Linked DNA regions of Homo sapiens: region 1 is linked to region 2. The links are contacts of gene promoters, found by promoter capture Hi-C in human tissues and cell types (Jung and others, 2019). All regions are on one chromosome and are shown on one strand. Each heading gives the region's core, a stretch centred on a gene start or on the middle of the fragment in contact. The rest is flanking DNA. Distances are from core to core; before and after follow the strand shown. Region 1 overlaps ARL15 (ARF like GTPase 15). Region 2 holds the start of NDUFS4 (NADH:ubiquinone oxidoreductase subunit S4).

Evidence for each region. Contacts are between HindIII fragments. The study calls those that stand out against the background at their distance.
Region 1: a fragment that was not itself captured here is called in contact with the fragment with the promoter of NDUFS4 in region 2 in 2 of the 25 tissues and cell types used here (mesenchymal stem cells and mesendoderm cells).

What each region holds. Positions count from the first base shown.
Region 1 is chr5:54,082,142-54,087,846 of GRCh38, reverse strand. All of the region lies in intron 4 of ARL15 (ARF like GTPase 15), which reads left to right. Among named protein-coding and RNA genes, the nearest start is that of MIR581, 130 kb to the right of the region's middle. The HindIII fragment of the contact is 5,895 bases long and covers 397-5,705 here.
Region 2 is chr5:53,556,979-53,562,118 of GRCh38, reverse strand. NDUFS4 (NADH:ubiquinone oxidoreductase subunit S4) reads right to left here and starts at 1,480. Exons shown (of 5, transcript NM_002495.4): 1 at 1,359-1,480. The coding sequence starts at 1,456. RefSeq lists an enhancer at 1,079-1,578. The HindIII fragment of the contact is 8,769 bases long and covers 1-5,140 here.

The DNA.
Region 1 (5,705 bases), core at 2,095-4,594, 520 kb before region 2:
AAAATTAGTCGGGCATGGTGTCATGTGACTGTAATCCTAGCTACTCAGGAGGTTGAGGCAGGAGAATCACTTGAACTTAAGAGACTCAAATATATATATATATTTGGAGCCATTTAGTTTCATTTTTGTTTCCTGTAGATGTAGCAGTGTTACTGGCTTCTTCCATTGTCTTTGTGAAAGCGGTGAATGCCAATGGAAACGAGTCACATGTTTATATTTTAACAGTCACATGTTTATATTTTAAAAGAGTGGAATATTTGTGGTAAGTGCAGTTGTGGCTTAATACCTCTGCTATTCCTTTTAGCTATCCAAACCAGAGGTGCTACTTCCTGAAAGTGGCAGAATTCAAAGAATCTAACCATGACATGCTTTTGATTTTTGTTATTAAGGAGATCTAGGGCTAGAAATTGCTAAAGTAGCATAATAACATGGCTTAGTATAGAAACCAGGAGCTGCAGCCCAAGATCTCGGCAGTACCATGTATAGGTTATATGACTCTGAGTTCTCTCTTTTTTTTTTGAGATGGAGCCTCGCTCTGTCGCCCAGGCTGGAGTGCAGTGGCTTGATCTCAGTTCACTGCAAGCTCCGCCTCCCGGATTCACACCATTCTCATGCCTGAGCCTCCCGAGTAGCTGGGACTACAGGCACCTGCCACCACGCCTGGCTAATTTTTTAGTAGCGACGGGGTTTCACTGTGTTAGCCAGGATGGTCTTGATCCCCTGACCTCGTGATCCGCCCACCTTGACCTCTCAAAGTGCTGCGATTACAGGCGTGAGCCACCACGCCCAGTGACTCTGAGTTCTTAAACACCTTACTTCTGCTTACCCAGGTTTAACATGAAAATCATCTATTAATTCAGCTTTGAACATTTTTTAAATTATTAAAACCATGAAAATTATTTAGCCATAAAGTATGTGTTGACTTTGCATATATAAATTCCTCGTCTCTCCCATGTGGCTTCATGTTTTGTTTATACTACTGTTTTCAAATCATTAAGTCAACCGCCTAGAGGAACTTGATTCCAGTTTTTGTGAAAAGCAAACCCAGAGCCTAGAAAAATGAAGGCCAAATTCATTGTACGTATCATTAGGCTAGTTGCCTTGTTTTTTTTAACCCATTCTGATTTCTTTTGCTTCTAGTATAGCGGACCAGTGTGTATTTTTTGGCTATAGCATGTATGTTTCATAGAGTATTTGTTAGGATTAACTAATAGCAGGTAGAGGAAGGGTTAATATTCTCATTTTTCCCTCCTATTCTATCTGGAGAGATCATAAAATACATTACAGTTAGAGTCAACAATCACCACTTGAAGAAATCTCTTCAACACAAAGCCTGATAAAATTTACATCTGGTAAATGTCTATTTAAGCTACTGCGAAACACATATACTTAAAAAAAAAAAAAGGCCTTTTCATTGTCTCAATGTCTTGAAGGCTGGAGATTGTAAAGCACTTCCCTAAAGTTCCTATGAGCAGGATGAGGCTATTTGCCTTTATAGAGCTATAGAACTAATAAGCAATTAAAGGGGATTTTGAAAAAAGCCTATAACTTCCAAAGTGATAAACTGTGGAAATATTCATTGGACCTGTCCCAGATTAGCTGAAGTATCCAGATGCTAAAGCTTATGTGTAGAGGCCAAGTACGGTGGCTCATGGCTGTAATCCCAGCACTTTGGAAGGCCGAGGCGGGCGGATCACCTGAGGTCGGGAGGTCGAGACCACTCTGACCAACATGGAGAAACCCCGTCTCTACTAAAAATACAAAATTAGCCAGGCGTGGTGGCGCATGCCTGTAATCTCAGCTACTCAGGAGGCTGAGGCAGGAGAATTGCTTGAACCCAGGAGAGGGAGGTTGCGGTGAGCCTAGATAGCACCATTGCACTCCAGCCTGGGCAAAAAGAGTGAAACGCCATCTAAAAAAAAAAAAAAGCTCATGTGTGGTGCCTGGAGCCATGGGACGCTTAGGAGAGAATATAGGTATTTCAGTCTGCCTCTCCTGGGACCCATCCACCTCTTCTCTTTTCTTCTAAGCCGTGGTTACCACCTATGGCGCTGACCATTCTCCTAGTGAAAACCTGCCAAAGACAATGGAAGCAACTACAGTGTTCCAGATACCAAGAATATCTTTATTCTGTATCTAAGAGTACAAGTTAGAAAGTGTTAGCCTAATAAATTTTGCAATAATTTATATATTGATAGCTGAAGGGAATTTAAAAATATTTTATGTACAATTGCCAGATGTTTTAAACCAATACTAATAAAAATATTTGTGGGGAAATACCCATGTTTCCTCCCTAATTCATCACCAACTGGCAATTTTAGTCTGTACGTTCAGTGACATGAAGCCACTGATTATATATTTGGGAGTCACAGCTATGTCACACTGCAACAAAAATTTCTAAAAAAACTTATTCTCAATTTCTGCATTTATTACATTTTGTCCTCGGATAATATTTTGATTTGCTATTTCAAATTGCTTTGCTGTAAACTATAGCAAAGGAGAAGGAAATGAGGTCATTGGGAGTAAAATAAAGGACTAATAAATAAAATAAATAGACTTATAAGACCTGTTAAATACTGTCAAGTAAAGCCAAAGATTGTTCTGTAGTATCTTTTGATTCACAGTAGTTTGCTAAGCATTCTGAAGCTCACAGGGTTAAACAATTCATTTATTCTTATTGTCATTGTTTCCCTGTTCTGTACAGAAAAGACATGGTAGCAGTGTCATTTCAGTTCACCTAAAGGGAATGACTGCAGCCTTACGCAAAATGTAGTATCCAAGATATATTTGTTCTATAATTTCAGTGAAGTGGATTCTCAAATTTCACGGTTGTTTTTATTAAAATCTGTGTATACATATACTCAGACATTAGCCAAAGCCATAATATCTGAACCATAAAACAGCCTCACTAAGGATTCATAAATATGGCCTCTCCCGCCCAATCATTTTCATATCATGTTTGTCCCTTTAGTAGGTTCCAAGATGATGTTTTTCAACTCCCATTACACCCTAAGAATTTGCTTGGATGAGTGAAATCAGTTGCAGTTTTTTTCGCCAGAACATGGTGCCACACCCTTGGCAGGTAGGCAATGTTGTCTTCATATGTTTGCAGAATTACTGAACATTAGCACTTTGTCCTCCAGAGAATACCCAACCCTACCCCTCAGCTTTCAGTGCACTAATGCCACAGACAAATCTGGCTCTGGAGGGGAGATGGCAATGTGAAGGCTCCCCACAACTTTGTGCATCTGGGGGTCGTACAAAAACAATGGCAGTCTTACAGCTTCTCCCAGGGAGATGTCGAGGGGCAGCGTTGAGGAGAAAGGGTAGACAGAGTGATTGTTCTTTCTGTTGTGCTTTTTCCCTTAAAAATGAATAAATTTAGATCACTTTAAGTTACAGTCTCTCTTTTTTTTTTTTTTGAAGAGTCAGTACCACTGTAGTGGCCCCAAAAGTATCCTACTCCTCCACCCCTCTGGGAGTCTCCAGATCTCTAAGACTAGATGAGCCCAAGAATAGTCTTACCCCACCCAGCCACTCTATCAGGAACCATCTGTGGACTGAGAATCCGCTCCTATTCTGAAGCATACGGTGTCCTGAAAGGCCTTCTAGACCCCTTCTGGGTTTGGTTACACAGGCTGAGAGTGCCAAGCCCACTGGCTAAGGCTAATTGTACAAGAGCACTCCAACGGCCTGCAGTGCCCCTGCCCTTCACCCCTAGCCTGGCTAATGTCCAGTGGTCCTCCTGGAAGACTTCCTGGTTTCCTCTGAGATGAGACTCCTCCCAAAGACTGGGCGACTCAGCCCCTTGGTTCCCATGGCACCCTGGCTATGGAATAAACGCTGGCAGTGTGGGGATTACTACCCCCATATAGATCATTCAGTCATCTTCTTTTCTGTATGATTAATTCTCCAGCCCCCTCCCTACTCCATTTAATTTTAGCATATGTATGATAAATCTTCATTGAATAATGAACAACTCATCAGTGATAAACCTTTTCTGAGGTATTGTTGTCCTTTGAAACAAAAACTCCCAGATTAAATGGTACTCAAAACTTATTAGATATTTTGCAGAACTCACAGTTCTACATTATTATAGTCATGTATTATAGTTATCGATTTACTTTAGGAAGTTTGAGTTGTAAGTTTGACAGCTCAGAGAACCAACATTTACATCTATTATTAATAAAGACAGGTGCTGCACTGATAATATAGTTAATGTATTCCTAAAAGAACCTAAATGAGGAGAAAATGACATTTTCTCTTTGATTTTAGTTAATTGGTGATATTTTCTCATGAAAAAACTTTTGACCCAAAGCAACAGTATATATCACATTTAAGTATATTCAGATTCATTTCATTGTCAATGTCCAGCCAAAGCACATTTAATTCTTGCGCAACCATCCCTGCAATAAGTTAATCAAATGAGCACTCAATCCCTATTGCATAGAATATTTAAGAGAAACACTTAAAAATTAAAGTGTACCATTGCATCAATTTCAGTTGCATTAGAAGTTCTCCTTAGTTCCATTAGCCTCAATTGTTTAAATAGCCACAGTGGTACTATGTATTTGCTACACACTCAACAGAATATATGAGCTTTTCTCTTTCCTTTATTCTTCTTTTTTAATTGGAAGGCACTGCTCATGAAATACAATTCTTTGATTTGTTCTCTAGACAGTAGAAAGACGTCATGGTTATTTCTTCCTTGGTAAATTAAGCCCCATTGTCAAACATAACTAGTGAGAAAAATAAATGCATTGTGTGAAATCCTAACCTTTAAACATACCACATTTGCTTACATATTTTTCTTTCTGTTTCCCTTATTTTTACTCTAAAATATGAAGATTCGTAGGCCTCATCTGTCTTTTCATTTTTCCCATATTTTCAACAAAGGTAGCCACTCCTCCAGAGTCAGAAATAAAATGATAAAATTAGTTCAAATCTAGGTCTTTTACTATGCCCAATTCTTCAGCAGCCTCTATTTCCTTAATATACCATTTAATGGAAAAATTTGACAAATTTGCATATAATCAAAAGGTGATTTTGCATCTAATTTTCCCCCCTCTAAATATGAGGCTTGAGAAGGAAAAAGTAAGGCCTTAGCTGAAGCTTCATCTTCCTTCTGAGCATTAAAGGTGCAAGAGCAATATACACTCAGAAACAAAGAGGAGAAAAACACAGAAAAAAAGGAGAGCCAAGGGGCTGGTGTGAGGGCTTCTTCCTATTTTATCTTGGTAGGAGTTGATTAGATTATGTGTCTTTAGTGTATCTCTGGAAGATAGAACATATTCAACTTGCAGTCACAAGAGATACTTTTTCATGATGATAATTTAAAATGTTACCAGGATTTTTTCCTTCCAAATGTGAGTATCTGTCTATACACACACGTATGTATATGTAGTTTTTGAAAGGGTAAAACTTCTAAAACCACAGCGAATATTATGGTGGTTAAAAAAAAGTCAACCTATAAGGAGAAAAATCATAAAAAGTTAAAATTCCCTTTGAAAATATTTTAGAACTTTCATGCTGTAGTTTTCTTTCCAACAGTGGAGCATTCTCCTATTTCTCCTGTTATGCACAAGATGTAGTATTTGATTTGCATTCAAGGGTCAGGATGAAAAAGAATACTCGTTTTTAAATACTAGAATCACACACTGTAGTGGAAGTGTTCTCATCATGAGAAGCCCCAGAGAACTGAGACC
Region 2 (5,140 bases), core at 231-2,730:
GGCAGGAGAACTGCTTGAACCCGGGAGGCGGAGGTTGCAGTGAACCAAGATCACGCCATTGCACTACAGCCTGGGCGTCAGAGTGAGAATGTATCTCAAAAAAAAAAAGAGAAAGAAAAAGGAAAAATACTTTCCATATATGGAACACTTAATTACAAACATCATTTGCCTTTCCCCAATCTTAGCACCCTTACTTTTGAGTGACTCTATTCTATGTATTTAGTAATCGTTTAACTAATGCTTTCAAGCCTTTTCATAAGCCACGGACCCTACGGGACACTCTCTTCTTTCCCACCCAACACCCACTATATTTAAACCTTAATAAAACTCATCCTTAAAAATTCTTCCGAATTAACTCATCCTAATTCTCTGCATTCCATTTATATTTAACACTAAATCAATTAGCATTCTACTAGACCTTCCTTTCAACTTTTAACCACTTGCATCCACCTCCTACCCCCTTCAAATCTCTCCATCCAGTCTTTCCAATCTTTGTTCTAATATGTGTGTGTATGTACGTATAGCATTAGTACTATAATTTAAAAAACTCCAGGAAATTCTGAAAAATAGAAAATGGAAGGTTAATACAGCCAAAAAAAAAAAAATCATCACAAAAATGCTTCAAGGAAAAACAGTAACAACTCAATCAACTGACAACTGAATCTGACAATACTTTGGAAAAGTACTACTTTAGGTTCTCAAGGACGCAAAGAGCCCTCAACAACTCAATTCAATCCCTGAATTATTGTGAGGCTTTAACAAAATCCCTAGAAAACCTCCAGGCATTACCACCAGCCTTTTAAAAATTACCTTCCAATATTACTAGCAGTGATATTTTTACTAACACTGAATTCCAAACAAGTTTTCCTCCCAAGCAGACTGATGAATAAACAATCTTCCTATGCAGAAACCAAATTAAAACCACTTAAAACCATGGAAGGGATACAGTGATTTAACCCTTCTGTAAGGACTGGAGTGGTGGGCAAACAGGTGACAAATGGAAGGGATGCAGAAAGTGGAAACAGAAATCAGTGAGACTCCTCCCCTTCTCTGAGGGCTAAGGTTCAGCTTGCAGCTCCGGAGGCAAAACCTCCACGGACCCTCTCCCTCAGCGACAAGCCGAATACGAAAGCTTCCAGAAAACCACAGGTCCTCCTCCCCGGCCTCGCACTCACGCCCTCACTCGCCTGGCCAACGCCCATTGATAGCAGACAGTCCCTAGTCCGCCCGACTTCTCCCGAGAAAAGGGTCAACAGAGGACGCCTTCCCCGAGGCCTCCTCCGGAACTCAGCCAGCAGAGACTCCGCAAAAATGGAGGGACCCAAGAAGCTTGAAGAAAAGTGTGAAAATTCTATTACCTGGTCGGAACCCTGGAAACGGAAAGGGCAGCTACAGCCACTGCCCTTCTCCGCCACAACGTCTGCCTCAGTACCACTGACATTGACACCGCCGCCATCTTGCTGCAGGCAAACGCCAGGATGAAAGGACGGATCACCGCAAGGGACTAACTTCCTTCGTTCTCAAGCCAGTGCAATCGCAATGTTGCGAAATTCTTTGGGATTTTATTTTCTTTTTAATACTGGGGCTTAAAAAAAGAGGGGAAACGCTTAGTTTAAATAAGTAAGAAGAAAAATGTGCGGGAAGAAATGCAGAAGTGCATTAACTGTAAATATTACCACCATAAAGTGTAATCTTTACTGCTTGTTAGGACTGGTGTTTTACAATGATAACGAAAAGACCAAAATATACTTGCATATTTAAACACCTGCAACTCGTAATTTATTGAAGAAATTAGGATATTTGGGGCTGAACCCACTGGAAAAGCTGGAGAGCTCTTTGGGTCCTTGAGAACCTGCAGTAGTACTTTTCCAAAGTATTGCCAGATTCACTTTGCAAGCCCTCAGGACAGGGCTGTATTCAGTTTGATATTCTGTAGTAGTAATGTTCGTATTTTCCAAACGAAAAATCTGGATACGTGATCTGGCAAAGGATTATTTTTTGACATGTAGATTTATATGAAGAATCAATAGAACATAATATTTGATGTCACTGTTTCCCCAGTAAATCCTGAATGTGTGTGTGTTCATAATCCATAGACATGAAGAATGATATTAATGCTCCATGCATATAAAACAAAAATTATCTTCCAATACAAGTGTTGGAAACATGTTTGTATTGTGGACTTCCGACCTTAAAGAATAATGACTAACTGAATTATATAAAATAAAAAGCAGGTTAGTTTTGGGTTTTGTTTTTTAAGAAATTTGTTTAAAGAGTTAGTACTTTCCTGCTTTTAAAATTAAGCACATGAAAACATAACCTTCATTAAATAAATAGGAACAATAGGAGGATGGGGAATGACATAGTTTGGCATTATGGACCGTTAAAGGAAAACCCAGTACATAAGGGAAAGGGAGAAAGAAAGAGAAAAAGTCATACTCAGGGAAAGAAATGCACAAGATGAAGGAAGGCAAGGGAGAGATGCCTCAGAGAAAATTTTCTTTCAAACTTTTCATTTTGAAATAGTTATAGATTCACATGAAGTTGCAAAGATAGTACAGATGTCTTGTGTACCTGTTTCCCCCAGTGATTACATCTCGTATAACTCTAGTACAGTATCAAAGCCAGGAAACTGGCATTGATATAAAGTATTTGTGTAGTCCTATGTCATTCTACTACATATTTTGTGTAACCACCACCATGATCAAGATACAGAACTATTCCACCCTCACAAAGATCTCCCTAGTGCTAACCTTTTTGGTAACACCTGCCCTCCTAACCCTAGTGATCTCTGTTTCTGTTTTTATAATTTTGACATTTTGAGATGTTATATGAATGGACTCATGCAGTACATGACCTTCTAAGATTGGCTTCTTTCACTTGGCATAATGCACTTGAGACCCATCCAAGTTGTTGTGTTTATCAATAGTTCATTCCTTTTTTATTGCTGAGTAATATTCCATGACATGGATGTACCACAATTTGTTTAACCATTCACCTATTGCAGAACATTTTGATTGTTTCCCATTTGGGGCCATTACAAATAAAACTGCTGCAAACAATTGAATACAGGTTTTTATGTGGACAAAAATCTTCATTTCTCTGAGATAAATGCCCAGGAGTGCAATTGCCAGGTCATGTGATACATGTATGTGTCATTTTTTAAAGAAATTAAAAACTGTTTTCCAGAGTAACTGTAACATTTTACATTTCCTCCAGCAATGTATGAGAGATCCAGTTTCTCCATATCCTCACCAGCATTTTCTATTATTGCTATTTTTGTTTTAGCTGAGCTAAAGTAAATAATAAATGTGCAGTAATACCTCATCACAGTTTTACATTTATTCCCCTGGTGGCTAATAATGTTGAATATCTTTTCATGTTTTTATCTGCCATCTGTATATTCCATTCAGTTAAATGTCCTTATGTCTTTTGCCCATTTTCTAATTAGCATTATTTGGTTTTTTACCTGTACATTTTGAGAGTTCTTCATATATTAGATGTGTCTTTTGTCAGATGCATGATTCACAAATATTTTCTTCAATCTGTAGTTTGTATTTTCATTCTCTTGACAAGATCTGCCACAGAACAAATATTTTTAATTTTGATGAAGTCCAGTTTATTCATTTTTTAAATTTATGGATTGTGCTTTTGCTGTCATGTCTGAGAACTATTCTCTAATCCTGTATCCTAAAGATTTTATCTTGTTTTCTTTCAAAGGTTGTTTTAGTTTTGCCTTTTACATTTAAGTCTATGTAATTTTTGTGAGTTAAGTTTTCCATTAATAGGTGTGAGGTTTAGGTTCAGGTTTTTGCTTGTGGCTATCCAATTGCTCTAGCACTACTTATTGAAAAGTTTATCCTTCTTCCATGGAGTCCCTTTTGCACCTTTGTCAAAATATCAGTTGGCCATACTTGTGTGTGGCTATTTCTGGGTTCTCTATTTCAGAGAGAAATTTTAAGCCCAAGGGTGGCTTTGGTGTCTGGGTGAATTTTAATAAAGATTTTCTATGTGAAGGAATAATGGGATGTGTCCCAGTGTTCATAAGAGCAACTTCCTATAGCCCTGTTACTGGCCCTACCAACCAAAGCTCAACCTCTCCACCTAACACCTATTCTAGTCCCCAACTTCCATGGATCTGAATTCCCCAGGAAAGCCCCCGGTCTCTAGTCTCTTTGTCTTTTGTACAGCCCATAATCCAACATCAGCATTGCCAGAACCCTAGTGGAATCTTTGATTCCCTTCACTTTCTGCTGGATTCCCTCAGCTGCCCATTCCTGAGGTCCTTTCTGACCTTATATACAGGATATAGGTGTTAGAATGGAACAGAAATAACTTGGTATGTTCATTTATTTATACTATTTCACCTATACCACAGGCTGTACCATTAAGCTTAATAGAATGTCTAGGTCCAAGTGCCATTTTGTTATTTCAATGTGCTGCCCCAGAAGTTGTTAACTACTAGAGTCCACTTCTTTGCCTCTTCTCTAGTCATCCTCCTTGCCCTTCAGATCACAGCTGTGAGTCACATCCTTCAGAGTCACTCCCCATGGTAGAAACTACGTCTTACAGGCATTTTTCACCTCCGCCATCCTTGCTGACAGAGCCTGACTCCTATGATAGAGACTAAAGTTGCTGTATATTGGCTTTCCCATTAGCTCCTGCAGCTAGCACATGAACATGTCCAAAGCCAACAGGATCTGAAATCCCTTTTGAGAAAAAAGACTTCTGAAAAAAAAAAAAAAAAAAGACATACAAGAAGAAATACCTCTTTTCCTGCGTCTGAATGCAGTTATATGAGGACATAATGCCTAGAACTGTGGCATCTTCTGAACTAGAAGGGACAAGCATAAGAGCTTAGCTAACAAGAAGGGGTGGAGGAATAGAGAGAGGAAAAGAGCCTAGGGCTTAGTTGACATCATTGAGCCAATCCTGAACCGACTTTTAAACCAAACCTGATGAAAATACCTCCAAACTTCCTGTTACATGAGGTAATAAATGACTTAATTGTTTAAACCTCCATTAGTTAGATATTCTGCATCCAAAAACATCTTTTCCTATGCTCTTACATGAAAAATACTTCTCTGACTTCCCTTTATGTCAGCTCTTTCTGTAGACTCTCCTAGCATCACATCTTCCT